4 separate regions of the Homo sapiens genome follow, and all the other regions are linked to region 2. The links are contacts of gene promoters, found by promoter capture Hi-C in blood cells and fetal thymus (Javierre and others, 2016). All regions are on one chromosome and are shown on one strand. The core of a region is centred on a gene start or on the middle of the fragment in contact, and the rest is flanking DNA. Distances in the headings are between cores, read along the strand shown. Region 1 has its middle 9.8 kb from the start of PPIL4. Region 2 holds the start of UST-AS2 (UST antisense RNA 2). Region 3 overlaps KATNA1 (katanin catalytic subunit A1). Region 4 overlaps GINM1 (glycosylated integral membrane protein 1).

Region 1 (4,674 bases), core at 1,229-3,728, 520 kb after region 2:
TTTCCTTGGATTTGTAATATTTCTCTTAAGGATACACAGAATGTTATCAAACACTACTCTTTAACACTATCTCTAGTCTTCTAATTTAGGATTCTGCTAGGGAAAGATTATATGAGTTATATACACAGTATCAGGCAATTAGGTTGAACTAATGTTTCAGTTTTCTTTTTCTTTCTTGAAAAAAATGTTTTTGAGACAGGGTCTCACTCCTATTCAGGCTGTAGTGCAGTGGGATGATCAGGGCTCACTGCTGCTTCAACCTCGGTGAGTATTGAAGTCCCCCACTCTACTAAAAATACAAAAATTTGCCAGATGTGGTGGCAGATGCCTGTAATCTCAGCTACTTGGGAGGCTGAGGCAGGAGAATTGCTTGAACCCAGGAGGCGGAGGTTGCAGTGAACCCACATCGTGCCACTGTGCTCCAGTCTGGGCAGCAGAGTGAGACTCCATCTCAAAAAAACAAAACGAAACGAAACAAAACAAATCTATGATAAACTCTCTCAAAAATAACCAACCATCTATGATAAACCCATAGCCAACATTATACTGAACAGGGAAAAGTTTAAAGCATTCCCCCTAAGAACTGGAATAAGACAAGGATGATCACTTTCACCACTTCTATTCAACATAGTATTAGAAGTCCTAGCCAGAGCAATCAGACAAGAGGAATAAAGGGAATCCAAATCAGTAAGGAAGAAGTCAAATTGTTGCTGTTTGCTGATGATGTGATCGTATACCTAGAAACCCTAAAGACTCATCCAAAAAGTTACGACATCTGATACACGAATTCAGTAAAATTTCAGGATACAAAATCAATGTACACAAATCAGTAACACTGTTATACACCAACAGCAATCAAGCTGAGAATCAAACCAAGAATTCAATCACCTCTACAATAGCTTGCAAAAAAATAATAAAATACTTAGGAATATACCTAACCAAGGAGGTGAAAGACCTCTACAAGGAAAACTACTAAACACTGCTGAAAGAAATCACAGATGACACAAACAAATGGAAACACATCCCATGCTCATGAATGGGTAGAATCAGTATTGTGAAAATGACTATACTGCCAAAAGCAATCTACAAATTCAATGCAATTCTCATCAAAATACCATCATCGTCTTCACAGAACTAGAAAAAACAATCCTAAAATTCATATAGAACCAAAAAAGAGCCCATATAGCCAAAGCAAGACTAAGCAAAAAGAATAATTTTCTTTTTTTTTTTTTTAGACGGAGTTACTCTTGTTGCCAAGGCTGGAGTGCAATGGCGCGATCTCGGCTCACCGCAATCTCCGCCTCCTGGGTTCAAGCAATTCTGCCTCAGCCTCCTGAGTAGCTGAGATTATAGGCATGCGCCACTAGTCCTGACTAATTTTTTGGACTTTCAGTAGAGATGCAGTTTCTCCGTGTTAGTCAGGCTGGTCTTGAACTCCCGACCTACGGTGATCTGCCTGCCTCGGCCTTCCAAAGTGCTGGGATCACATGTGTGAGGCTGTACCCGGCCTTTTTTGTTCTTTACCTGACTTCAAACTCTACTATAAGGCTGTAGTCACCAAAACAGCATGGTACTGGTATAAAAATAGGCAAATAGATAAATGGAACAGAATAGAGAACCCAGAAATAAAGCTAACAGCCAACTGATCTTAAACAAAGCAAACAAAAACATAAAGTGGGGAAAGAATACCATACAAACAGTGCTGGGATAATTGGCAAGCCACATGTAGAAGAGTGAAACTGAATCCTCATGTCTTACCTTATCTAAAAATCAACTGAAGATGGATCAAAGACTTCAATCTAAGACCTGAAACCATCAAAATTTTAAAAGATAACATCGGAAAAACTCTTCTAGACATTGGCTTAGGCAAAGACTTCATGATCAAGAACCCAAAAGCAAATGCAACAACAAAAAAGATAAATAGATGGGACTTAATTAAACTAAAAAGTTTCTGCACAGCAAAAGAAATAATCAGCAGAGTAAACAGACAACCCACAGAGTGGACAAAAATTTTCACAAACTGTGCATCCAACAAAGGACTGATATCCAGAATCTGCAAGGAACTCAAACAAATCAGCAAGAAAACAAAATAGTCTCATCGAAAATTAGGCTAAGGACATGAATAGACAATTCTCAAAAGAAGATATACGAATGGTCAACAAACATGAAAAAATGCTCAACATCACTAATTATCAGGGAAATGCAAATCAAAACCACAATGCGATACCACTTTACCCCTGTAAGAATGGCCATAATTAAAAAAAAAAAATAGATACTGGCATGGATATGGTGCAAAGGGAACACATCTACACTACTGGTGGGAATGTAAACTCGCACAACCACTATGGAAAACATTATGGAGATTCCTTAAAGAACTAAAAGTAGATCTACCATTTTGATGCAGCAGTCCCACTTTTGGATTTCCACTCAGACAAAAAGAAGTCATTACATGAAAAAGACACTTGCACAGACATGTTTGTAGCAGCACAATTCACAATTGTAAAAATATGGAACCCGCCCAAATGTCCATCAGTCAACGAGTGGATAAAGAAAATGTGGCAGTGGCCAGGCGCAGTGGTTCACGCCTGTAATCCCAGCACTTTGGGAGGCTGAGGCGGGCAGATCATCTGAGGTCAGGAGTTGGAGACCAGCCTGACCAACATGGCAAAACTGCATCTCTATTAAAAATACAAAAATTAGGCTGGGTGCGGTGGCTCATGCTTGTAATCCCAGCACTTTGGGAGGCCAAGGCGGGTGGATCACGAGGTCAGGAGATCGAGACCATCCTGGCTAACATGGTGAAACGCTGTCTCTACTGAAAATACAAAAAATTAGCCAGGCGTGGTGGTGGGCACCTGTAGTCCCAGCTACTCGGGAGGCTGAGGCAGGAGAATGGCGTGAACCCGGGAGATGGAGGTTGCAGTGAGCCGAGATCGCGTCACTGCATTCCAGCCTGGGCGACAGAGTGAGACTCCACCTCAAAAAAAAATAATAATAATAATTAGCTGGGCGTGGTGGCACACACCTGTAATCCCAGCTACTTGGGAGGCTGAGGCAGGAGAATTGCTCGAACCTGAGAGGCAGAGGTTGCAGTGAGCCAAGATCATGCCACTGCACTCCAGCCTGGGTGACAGAGAGAGACTCCGACTCAAAAAAAAGGGAAAGAAAGAAAAGAAAGTGTGATATATATATACACCATGGAATACTACTCAGCCATAAAAAGAAACAAAATAATAGCATTTGCAGCAACCTGGAAGGAGTTGCAGACCATCATTCTAAGTGAAGTAACTCAGGAATGGAAAACTAAACATTGTATGTTCTCACTTATAAGTGGGAGCTATGCTATGAGGATGCAAATGCAAAGGCATAAGAATGATCCAATGGACTTTGGGGACTCAGGGGGAAGGTTGAAAGGAGGTAAGGAATAAAAGACTATAATTAGGTACAGTGTACACTGCTCAGATTATAGGTGTAGCAAAAGTTCAGAAATCACCACTAAAGAAGTTATCCATGTAACCAAATACCACTTGTTCCCCACAAACTATTAAAATTTAAAATTTAAAAATTTTAAAAATTTTAAAGTAATTGACAATAAAAAACACAAAAAAGTAGAATGATTTCAAATAAACAACCTAATAATGCACTTAAAGGAACTAGAAAAGCAAGAACAAATCACACCCCCAAATTATGAGAAGAAAAAGTAAAGATCAGAGCAGAACTAAATCAATTTGAGACTAAAAAATTACAAAGGACCAATGAAACAAAAAGTTGGTTCTTCAAAAAAATAAACAAAATTGATAAACTGTTATCTAGACCAACCAAGAAAAGAATACTCAAAGAAACAAAATCAAAGATGAGAAAGGAGATATTACCATTGATGCCACAGAAATACAAAAAAATTATCAGAGACTTTTATGACTATATGCTGACAAAAACCTAGAGGAAATGTATAAATTCTTGGACACATACAATCTACCAAGACTGAATCAGAAAGAAACAGAAAACCTGAACAGACTAATAATGAGTAACAAGATTGAATCAGTAATAAAAAATCTCTCAACAATATAAAGCCTAGGATCAGATGGATTCACATCCAAATTTGCCCAAATGTACAAAGTAGAACTAATGTCAATCCTCCTGAAATGATTCCAAAAAAATTGAAAAGGAGGGAATTCTCCCTAATTCTTTTTTTTTTTTTTTTTTTTTTTTGAGACAGAGTCAGGCTGGAGTGCTGTGGCATGATCTCGGCTCACTGCAACCTCCACATACCGGGTTCAAGCAATTCTCCTGCCTCAGCCTCCCGAGTAGCTGGGACTACAGGTGTGCAACACCATGCTCGGCTAATTTTTGTATTTTTAGTAGAGATGGGGTTTCACCATGTTGGCCAGGCTGGACTCGAACTCTTGACCTCGTGATCCGCCCACCTTAGTCTCCGAAAGTGCTGGGATTACAGGCGTGAGCCACCATGCCCAGCCCTCCCTAACTAATTTTATGAGGCCAGTGTCACCTTCATATCAAAACCAAACAAGGACAAGAAAAGAGGAAACTACAGGCCAATATCCCTGATGAACATAGATGCAAAATCCATAGAAGAAAATACTAGCAAATCAAATCAGCAGCATATCAAAAACTAATACACCATGATCAAGTGTGATTTATACCTGGGATGCAAAG
Region 2 (4,968 bases), core at 1,213-3,712:
ACTGACATTCACGCTTCTGTCCCCAGGCCCATCACAAAACATAAATCTGTGATTCCTCTAAAACTCTTCTTTATATTTAATCATTAATTCAGAAGTTAGTGAGTACTAAGCATTCATAGTATGTATTGCCATTAAAGGCAAGAGCTTAAAAATAAAATCTAGGCTGGGCACTGTGGCTTATACCTGTAACCCCAGCACCTTGGGAGGCCAAGGCAGGAGGATCACTTGAGCCTAGGAATTCAAGACCAGCCTGAGCAACAGCAAGATCCTGTTTCTACCAAAAAAAAAAAATTAAAATTAAATATATAGTTTATCTCTGTCCAACGTATCTGTCTGTTCACTAAGAAACATGAGTTTAGGAATCATCATAGATGATTGTTTTTAAAAACTCAATTATCATTGATGAAAACAGGACTTCAATTTGCTATTGGTTCATTTACCATCGATATTCTCTATAAAGATTTTTTTTTTCAGCAGCCATGTCCCAGGCTCAGATCCTAATAATGTCAGCACTGGATCTTGTGTGTGTGTTACCTTAACACACACACAAGATGTGTTATCTTAAGCCAGTGTGTTATCTTAAGCCAGTACGAGGCAATACACACAGAAAAAAATAATTTTGAGAATAGATCTGTTTGACAACACCTGACGTCTTTCCAGTGGGGGTTGCGGGGACGTAGGGAATAGCAGTGCAAGGTCTTTAAGATAGTGTCTAAAAATCTAAGCTGGGCTGGGCATGCTGGCTCATGCCTGTAATCTCAACATTTTGTTAAGCCAAGGCAGGTGGATCACAAGGTCAGGAGTTCGAGACCAGCCTGGCCAACATGGTGAAACCCCATCTCTACTAAAAATACAAAAATTAGCCAGGCATGGCAACACATGCCTGTAATCCCAGCTACTCAGGAGGCTGAGGCAGGAGAATTGCCTGAACCCGGAAGGTGGAGGTTGCAGTGAGCTGAGATCGAGCCATTGCACTCTAGCCTGGGCCACAGAGCAAGACTCATCTCAAAAAAAAAAAAAAAAAAGTCTAAGCTGAAGGCATATAACTGGTTCAGCTGTAGCTACTGGGCAAATAGTTCATTAAAAATGAACACATAATGTAAACCCCTTTAACTTCTAAACACTTGTGATTTTTTTTAGTGAACATTTTTCTGAGGGGAACTGTATAACCACAGGCTGATAACATCATTCAGTTTACAGAAACATCACCAATTCACAAGAATTCAGCCTCTAGGCTTGTTTAATTTACTTTATGAAAGCTTAAATTGCAGCATAATATATGTGCGTTTGGCCTATTTCAACTATTACTCTTTGTTTTATTGGAAAACATGTTTTACTCTTGCTTACTGATTTGTTCTTGCGTTGGGATCATCTCTCCTCCAGGAGAAAGCATTTCCAATTTTATTATGAAAGATTAACAGGAAAATAGAACTTCCTTCACAGACATTGATGTTCTAGGAATAACTTTACAAAAATATTTCTCTTCTCTGAAAACTAATATTTAAATAGGTGTAATCTGAAACTACCAGAAAAATTCAACAAACACCTCCAGCAAATAAATAGCTGAGTGTCTGTGATGTCCCTTTCCTGGGGAAGGGCAGTATAAAGATGAAAATCTTGTCTAGCTGGAAGGCCGTCACTAACAGGGCTGGGGCGCATAACCCTGTGGAGACATTTGTGCCCGGCCTTAAAGGGTGCGTAGGAGTTTGCCAAGTGGACGTGGAAGGAGGCATTTTAATAAGAGGAAAATAACATGATTGGAAGCGTGGAGGTGAGAAAGCATAGAAGCACTCAGAGTGAGGAGAGCTGGGGCTTGGGCCAGCCCACGTCAGCCCCTGCCTGCGGACCCAGCCTCTTGGAGCCAGGCTCACTCACCCTGCCTTTAAGACGGCCCTACCAGAGGCAGGAGAAGGATCCGCAGCCTCAGCTTTCTGTGGCGCAACCTGGCACTGAGTCACTCATACCAATCTCAGCGCCAGTGGCCAAGCCGCTGCTGCCGGAGGGCCTGTGTCACCCTCCCCCCGTTTCCCTGCCCTCTTCCCATCCTACCACCACCCAAGCTCCCTGGCTTCCTAACAGTGTGGCAGGGATCCTCCCAGGCCCCCATCCTCCTCCAGCCTGAGTTCTTCCTCCCTGCTGTCTTCCCAGTCTTCCCCACTAAGATCCCACCACCCTTCAGACCCGGGCTCACACCAGCTCCTGCTGGCCCCATGTGCCTCGCACCGAATACAGGAGGTCGCACACTGCATCCCCAGACACCAAGTACTGCCCTGCTTGACCACCTATGTTCCCCTGGGCCCACCAGCATGGACTCTCCTTCTGTTACCAGTCACTGCCTGATCCAGGCATGAGCTGCCTGTGTCCCCCGACATCATCCTCCTGGCACCATCCTCTGCTCTTCCTGGCCTTCTTCACTGGGAGCCTTCGGGATCATCCCTCCAGATCAAGTTCTTCCAGCCCCACCTCCCTCCCACCCTGTGCACCCAGGGAAATTCATCTCTTCTGGGTCCCAACCTTGGCCTCGGGAGAGCCCCAGATGCCCCCCTCTGTGTCTACCCCAGTTACTCAGTGTGGTCAGACTTGGGGGTTGTACAGTTTTCTGTCTCATGATTCATTTCCCCAGGCAAAAAGCTGGCTAATAATATCTGGGTGTGCGGGGGAGGTACCAGTGTGTTTCTGTGTTTGGAGGTGAATTTTTTTCTACTTTAGAATTTAATCACTTCTACTTTGAGCAGTTTTTAGCTGAGCTGACAGTAATATGCTCTGCATTGAGTATTTGTAGGGGGTGGAATTAGTCACCACAAATTTCAATTTTTGGACTTTCCTGATAACGCCACAAAGCTGAAAGGCTTCTAAAGCTTGAGCAAAGATTGGAAACTTGACCCCAGGGGTTGATGGTTGATCTTTATAAAAACGACCTTGTGGTCAGTTTGTTCTTTTATGCTTAAATTGTCAAGGTCCCTGTCCACCCCAGGAATTAATGTGGTGATGTGGAAAGAGCACTAGACAAAGGATTTCAAAACTGTCTTTGGGCCCTTGGCTCGTGGCCTTAGCTCTCTGACATTCTTTGCTTATAAAATGTACCCCCTGCCGGGGCGAAGTACAATCCTTACCCATTTTGCATGACTCAACATTTTATAATGGAAGCTTCTATTTTTGTCTGGCTAAATCTTTTTCAAATAAAAATATTTCTTGGTCTGTATATTTTTCATGTCTCAGACATTTTTATCAATACATAATGTCCTAGCTTTTCACATCTTGCAAATGGCACAGAATTGTGAAAGAATACAGCAAAAAGCTAGAAATATACCTGTGTATATAACATTGCTGGGGATTTTTATGTGTGGTTTCTTGTGGGTTCTAGTAAGCACGTTCATTTCATTACCTACAAACGCATAGAAAAATCCAACATAATCCCACACTGATGAGAAGAAGAGAGGGTTGTTTGTCAGGTGGGGTAGTTTCACTTGACTTGAAGGTCTCACCCCGCCCCTCGTCTTTACCATAGCATACGCTTCTAGATGCTTCTGCTGCATTGTCAACCAGACTCTACCAGAACTGTTTTTCAAAACATGTGTTCCTAGGATTTTACCTCCCTGCATTTTTTGCTATATCTATTAAGTAATGCATGTATATAATTAAAAATCAAATAGTCCTATAAGATGTATAATGAAAACCAGCAGTTTCCTATTCCAACCCTCCCAAAGATGAAGTCTGATGTTGCAGAGCCAATCACTTTCAGCGCAGCTAGATGTTTCTTCGGATAATCACCGCGCTATCTGTAACTAGTATGCACAGGCTGCTGTTTCTTGATTTACTGGGGTCATGATCTCATTCTCTTATTCCATTACCTTTACTTCTACTTCCTTGCTCCTCTCCATCTTCCTAAGATGGTCATACCCACATTTGAGATGCATGGTCCTGCTGACGTTGCTGTGACTATATACATTTTGTTGGCTGCTGATCAGAGTAGTACATCATGATTTTGTTTCATTTCTTGCACAACTTAATTGTTTTTCCTGGAATTATTTATTGCCTTCATTTATTTGCCTAGATTTATTTGTACCTATCAAAAATTTCGTATGTGCCAAAATTTTCGTATGTGCCATTAGATCTGCCGCATTCAGTATTACTTTTGGTATTATTTAAATATTAATTACCAGATAAGTATGTCAGTTCCATCCCAACCTGCCCTCCCTTCCCGCAGAGGCCCTCTCCTCTTTCCACCCAGAGCTCTTTAAGCTCCATCGCAGCCTGCCCTCCCTTCCCCCAGAGGCCCTCTCCTCTTTCCACCCAGAGCTCTTTAAGCTCTATCCCAGCCTGCCCTCCCTTCCCCCAGAGGCCCTCTCCTCTTTCCACCAAGAAAGCTCCTGCTCCTAGTATATCTGGGTTCATTACTCTAAACACAGCTTTACTGCAGCTTCCCTTTACTATGTTTCTCAGTTGGGTCCAGTTTTCTTAATCTCGGGGATGCTATTTCTTGATTTAATAACTCATTTTACTTCAAGATGTTCCTAAGTTGCCTCCTCATGAAAGGTGCATGGGAGGGAAATTTTTTTTGAGTCATTGAAGGTCTGAAAAGCTCAGTATTCTACTCTAACTTGATGGCTAGTTTGGTTCTCATATTCATGCTCATTCTCTCTCTCTCTCTCTCTCTCTCTCTCTCTCTCTCTCTCTCTCTCTCTCTCTCTCTCTCTCCTTGGATTGTCTCTTTATTCCTTTTATGAAATTTTACAATATGACTCGGTATGTGTGCTAAATATTTAGTGGATACTTTCAGGCTTAAAACTCCTGTCTTCTATTTCTGGGAATTCTTAACATTTTGTTTCTTTGATGATTTTACCACCATGTTCTGCTTCTTTTCTGGAATGCTTTTAGTGGTCAGATACTTGAACCTCTAGATTCATCCTTTCTATGCGCTTCGCTGTTTTTTCCTCCCTCAATTGCCATCTTTTGAACATTTTTTCT
Region 3 (4,710 bases), core at 1,034-3,533, 570 kb after region 2:
CTAAGAAGAGATAATTAAGTAAAGAGCCATTCTTTACTTTTTAATTCCTTACTATTTAGTATTAAGGCATATAGCCAAACTAGTACTGTAAAGGAAGATACTCCTCATGTATCTCTTCCAGAAAGTTAGTTAATAACAAATTTTAAATTCTCTAAACAAAACTACATGAAAGTTAACAGGCTTTCTGACAAGATTGAAAGGAAGATACCTGACGGCAAAGGAATATAGATTCGTTTCTCAAGGCGTCGTCTTAAAGCCTCATCTATATCCCAGGGAAAATTAGTAGCTGCCAGAACCATAACCATTTTGGAAGGGTCATCATTTTCAGAAGTACCTCCAACACCTAAAATAAGGGTAAGGGGAGAGTGAAAAAGATATTAAGTTGGATTATACCAAATGAAGCTCAGCTATTTAAAGATCAACAACTATTTAGTACAACAATACAAGGAAGCACAGTCTTAATGCCTCCTTAAGACTTAGGTTAACTGGTACCTATGTGAATTTGTAATCCAAAGAAAATGAGTTCTGTAGTATGCAAATATATGACTCAAAATAGATTTAATCGAAAAGCCAGATCTCAAATACATAACAATTTTAAATCTTTTTCAAAGCGTACATAAACTCTAAGGCCAATTTATCTGCATTTATTTTTATTTCAATTTCATAGCTAAAGTAAGATAGTTGTATATACCAAAAGGGTGCCCTGTGTGTGGCCATTAATTCTGACTTGTCACCACTGTCAGTGTACCAAATCTATTACTATCACTATCAGGAACTTCTTGCCACCCCCTCTAGTCCATCTGAAGTTAAGAATACCTATTAAAAGCTTGGGTTAGCACTATGAGTAAAGTTTGACCCACTGGAACTGGAGACACCACACCTAACAACCTCCCGTCCCTGTTCAACTCAAGCTAAACACAGATACCATCCATCTGAACCAGCAGCTCCGCTTTCACCCTTCTGCTTGCTTCATGTTCTTCAGAAGTCCCTCGGCGACTACAGATGGAGTCTATCTCATCAATAAATATGGTGGCTGGAGAATAAAATCGAGCCTAAAGGAAGAAACCATGCAATATCAAGCTATTAAGCTATTATTTCATTTTAAAATAATCTACAGATTAGCAATCAGAAAATAGCTGAGGGAGGCTGGGCACAGTGGCTCACACCTGTAATCCCAACACTGGGAGGGTGAGGCAGGAGGATGGATTGAGCCCAAGAGTTCGAGACCAGCCTGGGCAACATAGCAAGACTCCATCTCTACAGAAAATTAAAATATTAGTTGAGTGTGGTTACACGTGTCTGAGTCCCAGCTACTCAGGAGGCTAGGTGAGAGGATCCCTTGAGCCCAGGAGTTCAAGGCTGCAGTGAGCTATGATCACACCACACCACTGTATTCCAGACTGGGTGACAGAGTGAGAACCTGTCTCTAAAACAAGAGGAAAGAAAGAAAACAACAAAACAGCTAAGGAGCCTGCCACACTGTGCATCTTTCTCTCACGCTAATACTGGGGAGATGGGATAGAATTAGAACAGCTAAAATATGGCTTCTAATGAACCGTTTTTTATTTATTTATTTTTTTTTAAGAGGCAAGGTCTTGCTCTGTCATCCAGGCTGGAGTGCAGTGATATGATTTTGGCTCACTTCAACCTTGAGCTCCTGGGCTCAAGCAATCCTCTCACCTCAACCTCCCGAGTAGCTAGGACTACAGGTGTGTGCCACCACACCAGGCTTATTTTTATATTTTTGGTAGAGATGGTGTCTTATTATGTTGCCTAGGCTGGTCTCAAACTCCTAGACTCAAGCAATCTTCCTGCCTCGGCCTCCCAAAATGCTAGGATTACAATGAGCCACTGTACCTAGTGGGATAATTTCATCTTTAAAGAGAGTCAATACTTGGGTCTTTATGTATAAATATTTTTGTACTTTTTCAACAAATGGAGAGAGGGAAAGAGTGAACTTCATCATCATTAAAACATCCAAGAAAATTCTCAACTAAAATTTTAGGAAGCATCTATCAAAAGCACCTACATCAACAAAAATTAAACTTCAGTCTGTTGCCACACCAAGCAAAAGTGACTAGACTGATTCTTCCCACATACTGAGGTTATGTAGAATGATCTGACTTCAAGGAAAGGCTATGTGTCCTGGGTTTAGCTGGCCCAGGAAGGTACGGTAGAGGACACCAATTGGTTCTCCCTGCACAGCACACTTCTGGTAAGAGAAGCCTCTTTTTCATTTGCAAATCATCCCTTTCTTTCTTTCCTCCCCTCTCCCCTCTCCCCTCTCCCTCTCTCTGTAACCTCTGCCACCCCGGTTCAAGCAATTCTCCTGCCTCAGCCTCCCAAGTAGCTGGGATTACAGGTGCACGCCACCACACCTGGCTAATTTTTGTATTTTTAGTAGAGACGGGGTTTCATCATGTTGGCCAGGCTGGTCTCGAACTCCTGACCTCAAGTGATCTGCCCGCCTCAACCTCCCAAAGTGCGGGGATTACAGGCATGAGCCACCATGCCGGGCCCCTCTCATTCCTATTCCACTACTTCAAAAGAGGCTAACTTTACTTGGAACTCCAGGGGTTTTATTCAGACCTGGCCAATCAGAGCACTCCAATTCTCTGACCAAAAACAAGGAGTTTCGGCATAGGTATGAAACTCAAAACAGGCCAAATATTAATCTTTGGACTTTTGCTGGAACTATGACAAAATGAGGGCTAACTTTGCTGAGAGTTCATTACCCTAAGGACAATAAAAATAAGGCTTGAAAGCTGAGTGCAGTGGTACACGACTGAAGTCCCAGCTACTTGGGATGCTGAGAGAGGAGGATGCAGTATGCTATGATTGTGCCTGTGAATAACCACTGCACTACAACCTGTGCAATATAGTGAGAGCTTATCTTAAAAAAAAAAAAAAAAAAAAAAAAAAGCTGAACACAATGGCTCTTGCCTGTAATCCCGGCACTTTATGGGGTCTAGGCAAGAGGAGTGTTAGGCCAGGAGTTCTAGACTGCCTGGGCAACGTAGTGAGACTTCATCTCTACAAAAAAATCAAAAAAGGCCAGGCGCAGTGGCTCATACCTATAATCCTAACACTTTGGGAGGCCAAGGTGGGCAGATCACCTGAGGTCAGGAGTTCAAGACCAGCCTGGTCAACATGGCAAAACCTCATCTCTACTAAAAATACAAAAATTAGCCAGGCATGGTAGTGCACTTGTGTAGTCCCAGCTACTCAGGAGGCTAAGGTGGGAGGATCGCTTGAGGCTAGGAGGTGAAGGCTGCTGTGAGCCGAGATTGCAACACTGCACTCCAGCCTAGGTGACAGAATGAGACCCTGTCAAAAAAAATAGAATTCATGTCTTGACCAGGATTGGTGACCCATGCCTATAAATCTAGCACTTTGGGAGTCTGAAGCAAGAGGATCACTTGAACCCAGGAGTTCAAGATCAGCCTGGGCAACACAGCAAGACCCCATCTGTAAAAAAAAAAAAAAAAAAAAAATGAGCTGAGTGTGGTGGCTCATGTCCATCATCCCAGCTGCTTGGGAGGCTTAGATGGGAAGAGCACTTGGGCCTGGGAGGTCACGGATGCAGCGAGTTGTGATCATGCTCCTGCATACCAGCCTAGGCAAGACTGAGAACCCATTTCAAAAAAAAGAAGATTCACGTCTTTGTCACTAATAGCATAACTCTATCCTAATTACATAAAACTACTCTGTTTCTTAGAGGCAAGAGTGACGTAATCAGTGAAGCTTAACAAAGTCTGAAGTTTAAAAGGCTGTGGAATTCAATCTAAACACTCTACCAGAACTTGTTGAATTACATTTCTTCTATTGGTACTCTGATTTGTATTGGTGGAAGAAAGAACCTAATCCAAAGATTAGGTCATTAAAATGAAGGCATTTGGTGCAGTTAATAGATCGGAGGTGACCTAAGTTCCACAATAAATTATGATTCTCACCTTTTGGCATCATTGTTACAATACTGTGGTTATCATATTATAACTAAACCTATTGATTTAAAAAACATAATTTCAGATTCCTACAGAAGATTAGTAATGCAGATCCCATAATGTGAGCATGCCCCAAAACTGGTAGATTTGGATCTACATCTGGAGAAAAAGAGACAAAGAGAAACTCTAATTATTCATGTTTGTAAAGAAATCTAGCTTTAAGGGCATAGGACTCATACTCTGGGCAAAATGGCATCCTGCCTAACTATTCCATATACTGGAGATAGTTACAGCTCACTTTCTCCCCTTTTAGAGAGGTAAAGAATCATTAGAGCTGTCTCAAACATTCACCATTTCAAACAGAAGACGAACAAGCTTCTCAGATTCTCCTCTGTATTTGGAAGTCAAAGTTGATGAAGAGACATTGAAGAATGTTGTCTTGCATTCTGTAGCTACTGCTTTAGCAAGGAGCGTCTTCCCCGTGCCAGGTGGGCCGACCATCAGTACTCCCTGTTGCGAATATAATAGCCTCAGCAGAGGATTTATCTGCCATTGTTCTAATTCATAAAAGTGTCATTACTAAGTAGCAAATTTCGACCAACTTATATATAATATCAAGACAAATAAAAGACAAACAGATAAACAGGAGGATACTTTGTCACAAATTTACTCTTCCCGTTAAAAAAGAAGATAACCACATTATGAAAAATTTGGAACTCAAAGATGAGAAAAAGTAGTTTATAATATCAGCACCCTAACAGAGGTA
Region 4 (5,139 bases), core at 2,299-4,798, 550 kb after region 2:
ATCAATAGATTAGTACTTTTGGCTGGGCATGGTTGCTCATGCCTGTATTCCCAGCCCTTTGGGAGGCCAAAGCTGGAGGATCACTTCAGTCTGGGAGTTCGAGACCAGCCTGGGCAACATAGGGAAACCTATGAGCCCAGTGTGGTGGTGCAGGCTTGTTTTCCCAGCTACTTAGGAGGCTGAGGTGAAAGGATCCCTTGAGCTCAGGAGATAGAGGCTGCAGTAAGCTGTGATTGTACCACTGTAGTCCATCCTGGGTGACAGAGTGAGACCCTGTCTCAAAAAATGAATTTAAAAAATAAAAATAAATAAATTTGTACTTTTATCACTTCCCAAACAATGCAAGAACCTTAGAACACTTAAATTCCATTTATTCCCTTTTTGCCTTTGGGTTATTATTATATATTTTAACTCTTTGTGTTCTTAAACCCCATGTGACATAATTATTGTTTTATGTAGTCCAATATTCATGTGTGTTTACCATCATAGTTACCTTTTTCATTGCTCTTTATTCCTTCCTATCTGTGCTCCACTCTATATCATTTGGTTGGAATTTCAAGTTCCAAAATTCTTTCTTCTATCCCTATTTCTCTGTACATTCTGCAACTCCTGCCTTGCCCTCACACACATGCATTGTGCCCTGGTTGTCATTTTCCTTCGGCCTAAAGAATTCCCTTTGGTATTTCTTTCAGTACAGGTTTGTTAGCAGTGAATGGTCTGAGGTTTTATTTGTCTGAAAACATCTCTTTGCCTTCATTTTAGAAGGCTATTTTTGCTGGCTGTGGAAGCATAGCTTAGCATTTTTGTTTTAACATTTAAACACTTCATTTTCTCCCCTGCTGGGTGAGACTGCCAGACACTTTGTCGAGCTTTTTTGCCTCCTAGTCGTTGCTTTCTACTCAGCTTTTCAACCTCTCCACCTGTTCTGTCTGGGAGTTGGCAAATGCCTTTGCGGGAAGAAATCACATAGGATATTGTACTCACCTCAGGGAGCTCTTTTCTTGGCCCTTCAAGTGCTGGCTGTCTTTAGCTTCTGATGCCTCTACACAGATGTAGGTTTTGTGTGTATGTGTGGGTGTGTATTTTTTACATCTTTTCTAGCAGTTCTTTGCAAGTGGTTCATTGCAAGAGGGTTGGTGTGCTGCAAGCTGATCCATGGTAGCTAAGAAAGGAAGTGCTAGTACTACTGAAATAATAATTCTTTTGTTGTTGTATTCACTGGGAATTGGACGTGGAATACAGCCTGTCTCCTCTCTTATGGCCATCTTTTAGTCATCCCAGTCATTGCACTGAGTTTGTTTCTATGATAACTGAAATAAATGCTCATCTTATCCAGTTACAGCAAGAATCTTCAAAACATTAAATGCAGCAACAACAACAAATCTTCTTTAATTCTTTAAAGAAACTTTTTCTTTAGTTGGTGTATTTGTTTATTGCTGCATAACAGTTTAACCCAGAAATCAGTGGCCTAAGACAATATTTATTATTTCATAGTTTCTGTAGGTCGAGAATCTGAGCTTGGCTTAGCAGGGTCCTGTGGTTCTCAAAAGGCTGCCATCACGTCAGGGCTCAGCTGGGAAAAATCTGCTTCCCAGCTCACTCATGTGGTTGTTGGCAGGAGTCAGTTCCTTCTGAGCTCTTGAACTGAGGCCTCAGTTCCTCACCAGATGTTGGTTGAAGGTCTTCCTCAGTTCCTTGTCACACGAAGCTCCCCATAGAGCATCTCACAACATGGCAACTAGCTTCATCGAGAGGACAAGAGAGACTGCCAGTAAGAAAAAGAGTACTAGCAAGACAGAAGTCATAGCCATTAATAATCTAATTGTGGCAGTAACATTCCATCACTTGGGCTATGCTCTGTTTGTTAGAAACGAGTCACTAGGCTGTGTGCATTGGCTCATGCCTGTAATCCCAGCTATTTGGGAGGCTAAGGCTGGAGGATCACTTGAGGCCAGGAGTTCAAGACCAGCCTAGGCAAGATAGCAAGGCTGTCTCTTTCAAAAGAACAAAAAAAGAAAAAAAAATCATTCATAGATCGATAGATAGATAGGTAACTAACTGACTAGTCACTAGGTCCAGCCCACTTGAGGGAGGAATTGCAGAAATGTCTGACTCCTTAGAGGCAAGGGTCATTGAGGGGCATTTTTGAAAGCCGCCTACCACAGTAAGGAAGTCAATATGAAGGGCTTTGTTGTTTTTTATTTAATTTTATGCTGTATTAGAGGTACTGTATGAGGCTCTTCTCACATTGCTATAAAGAAATACCTGAGACTGGGTAATTTATAAAGAAAAGAGGTTTAATTGGCTCATGGTTCTGCAGGCTGTACAGGAAGCATGGCACCAGCATCTGCTCAGCTTCTAAGGAGGCGTCAGGAAGCTTTTACTCATGGTGGAAGGCAAAGGGGGAGCCAGTATCTCACATGGCAGAGCAGGAGCAAGAGAGAGCAAGAGTGGCAGTGGGGTGCCGTAACCCCAAGCCATGAGGGATCTGCCCCCATGGCCCAAACATCTCCCACCAGGCCCCGCCTCCAACATTGGGAATTACATCTCAACATGAGATTTGCGGGGAACATCCAAACTATATCAGGTACCAAATTTGCAGGCTGAAGAATTGCCACTTGGGTGTATTTTTATGACTGCATTTTCTCACCCATTGAGTCTCCTGTACCTTAGTCTTTGGGCTTACGGACATGCTGACACAGCGCCTGCTGTTCCACGAAGGAGACCCACGGGTGGTAATGGTCAGTTAAAACACGGGGATGGACCATGAGAGAGGGGGTACCTTTGACAGTGGTGCTTTTCAAAGGGCATGAAGGATTAGGCACACTAGAGAGAGGAGCAGCGAGGGGCCAGATGAGGAGCCTGAGGAGGACCAGTGAGAGGACCGGGAACTTCACAGAAGTGCCACTAAAGGTGTGTGAGCAGGAGGCTGTGGACTGAAAACCACGTCACAGTGAGACGAGCTTGGCATGTTGTCTGAATGGTTTGGCGGCGGGGACTAAAGCAGGGGAGAATAGGTAGGTATATCTTGTAATAGTAAGTAGTTAATGAACTAGATATTGAGATATTCCAGACAAAGGAAGTAGCCCTATAGATGCACAGAATCAGACTAAACAGCTGGGTGTGCATTCAGATTGTATATCTGGATTCCTGTTTGGCAAAAATCTTCAGATTATTTGAGGGATAGAAATAAAATGCTCCATCTGTGACAGGTGCATTGGTGTATGTTGTTTTATCTTTTTCGATAGCACTTCTACCTTAATAGAGTAGCCGTTGGCTCTGTAAACCAGCTGCAGCTACTACACCCCGTTTCTACTGGAGCAGGAGTAGAGGTTTCCTAGCTAGAGAAGAACGTGGACAATAGCTAGTCCTACCCCATTATCGATTACCAGAGAGAAATGACAGGCCTCCCCCACCCTCTTTCCCCATTCCTGCTCTCTCTAATAGTAATGAGTCACTAATCGGGGAAAGGATTGATTAAAAAACTCAATGTTCTTACTGCTTGGGCATCTTCTCTCACAGGATTTTGTGGATGGATGAATGTATGTGCTTATTATGTTAAAACGTGGGATTGGCTGTATCTTCTGGCTGGCTTTATAGTTGTGCCATGTTGGTTCCTCATGGCCAACCTGTATAAAAGAATAGGAAAGATGGGCCAGGCGTGGTCGTTCACGCCTGTAATCCCAGCACTTTGGGCAGCCAAGGTGGGTGAATCACTTGAGGTCAGGAGTTAGCAAGACCAGCCCGGCCAATATGGTGAAACCCTATCTCTGCTAAAAATACAAAAAAACAGCTGAGCATGGTGGTGCAAGCCTGTAAACCCAGCTACTTGGGAGGCTGAGGCAGGAGAATCCCTTGAACCCAGGAGGCAAAGGTTGCAGTGAGCCAAGGTGGCACCACTGCACTCCAGCCTGGGCGACAGAGCAAGACTCCATCTCAAAAAAAAAAAAAAAAAAAAAAGAATAGGAAAGATGTTGCTAGTGTGGTATTTCATACAAAGTCTAAAGATCAACACATTTTACCCTTTCAAATGAGTGTAAGCAGTCATAAAGATTTGTCAGATTGTCTTTGTTTTTAATAAATCTGAAACAGCATTGAGGTCAGGGATGAAGAAAGCCAAAGAAATGGGTTTTCAACTGTCTTGTTCCATGTAAATGTCATCAAAATAATCACACTCACTCACAGATTTGGTGGTAATCTTTGTTCAAAGGTGTCACTACTTTTTTTTTTATAGTGAAGAATGAAAATCTTGAAAATTTGGAGGAAAAAGAATATTTTGGAATTGTCAGTGTAAGGATTTTAGTTCATGAGTGGCCTATGACATCTGGTTCCAGTTTGCAACTAATTGTCATTCAAGAAGAGGTAGTAGAGATTGATGGAAAACAAGTAAGATAGTATGTTTATTAATTGGGAATTAAATGATATTTAGATTTGTGCTAGATATTATGCATGTGTTCAGTTATTTTATTTGTTTCCGACTTGATAAGGAAGGTGCCTAATGTTGCCTATATCCAATTATTTAGAATTTTTGTATATTTATTTTAGCATTTGAAATGTATTTTTAAAATTTCCCATATTCATACATGTTTGTATCACTTTAAAATGTACAGACATTATTAAATAGAAAGTAAGCAAAGAGATTCAATTTGGCTCATAGTTCTGCTACCATTTCCTCTATGGTAAATGAAGTCTCTGTGTGTAAATGAAGTAGAATCGAGATTAAGCTTATAATAGTAAGTGTTAAAGCAGGACAGGAATATTATTAAAGTTGCAAGTTAAGTGCCCCAAAGTGGGAGTACGGGGAAATAAATAGTAATTGTTAGCTGGGCATGGTGGCTCACACCTGTAATCCCAGCACTTTGGGAGGCCAAGGTGGACGAATCACCTGAGGTCAGGAGTTCTAGACCAGCCTGACCAACATGGAGAAACTCCTTGTCTCTACTAAAAATACAAAGTTAGCTGGGCATGGTGGCGCATGCCTGTAATCCTAGCTACTCGGGAGGCTGAGGCAGGAGAATCGCTTGAACCCAGAAGGCGGAGGTTGCGGCAAGCTGAGATCGCACCATTGCACTCCAGCCTGGGCAACAACAAGAGCGAAACTCCATCTCAAAAAAAAAAAAAAAGAGTAATTGTCTGAAT

What was found. Contacts are between HindIII fragments. The CHiCAGO score rates a contact against its expected background, and 5 or more counts as called.
Region 1: a contact is called between a fragment that was not itself captured here and the fragment with the promoter of UST-AS2 in region 2, in 5 of 17 cell types (activated CD4 T cells, non-activated CD4 T cells, naive CD4 T cells and 2 more). The highest score is 6.9, in activated CD4 T cells.
Region 3: a fragment that was not itself captured here is called in contact with the fragment with the promoter of UST-AS2 in region 2 in 6 of 17 cell types (naive CD8 T cells, fetal thymus, naive CD4 T cells and 3 more); the score reaches 7.3 in naive CD8 T cells.
Region 4: a fragment that was not itself captured here is called in contact with the fragment with the promoter of UST-AS2 in region 2 in 3 of 17 cell types (naive CD4 T cells, activated CD4 T cells and total CD4 T cells); the score reaches 7.0 in naive CD4 T cells.

Annotation. Positions count from the first base shown.
Region 1 is chr6:149,553,542-149,558,215 of GRCh38, forward strand. No RefSeq gene overlaps it. Among named protein-coding and RNA genes, the nearest start is that of PPIL4, 9.8 kb to the left of the region's middle. The HindIII fragment of the contact is 7,087 bases long and covers 1-4,674 here.
Region 2 is chr6:149,030,199-149,035,166 of GRCh38, forward strand. It overlaps UST-AS2 (UST antisense RNA 2), which reads right to left and starts at 2,463. Exons shown (of 2, transcript NR_134599.1): 1 at 2,327-2,463. The region is part of intron 7 of UST (uronyl 2-sulfotransferase); the gene reads left to right. RefSeq lists an enhancer at 2,867-3,056. The HindIII fragment of the contact is 1,599 bases long and covers 1,258-2,856 here.
Region 3 is chr6:149,597,299-149,602,008 of GRCh38, forward strand. KATNA1 (katanin catalytic subunit A1) reads right to left here. Exons shown (of 11, transcript NM_007044.4): 7 at 4,296-4,454; 8 at 926-1,052; 9 at 209-343. Among named protein-coding and RNA genes, the nearest start is that of GINM1, 33 kb to the left of the region's middle. The HindIII fragment of the contact is 2,918 bases long and covers 825-3,742 here.
Region 4 is chr6:149,574,588-149,579,726 of GRCh38, forward strand. It overlaps GINM1 (glycosylated integral membrane protein 1), which reads left to right. Exons shown (of 8, transcript NM_138785.5): 4 at 4,235-4,386. Among named protein-coding and RNA genes, the nearest start is that of GINM1, 11 kb to the left of the region's middle. The HindIII fragment of the contact is 2,347 bases long and covers 2,376-4,722 here.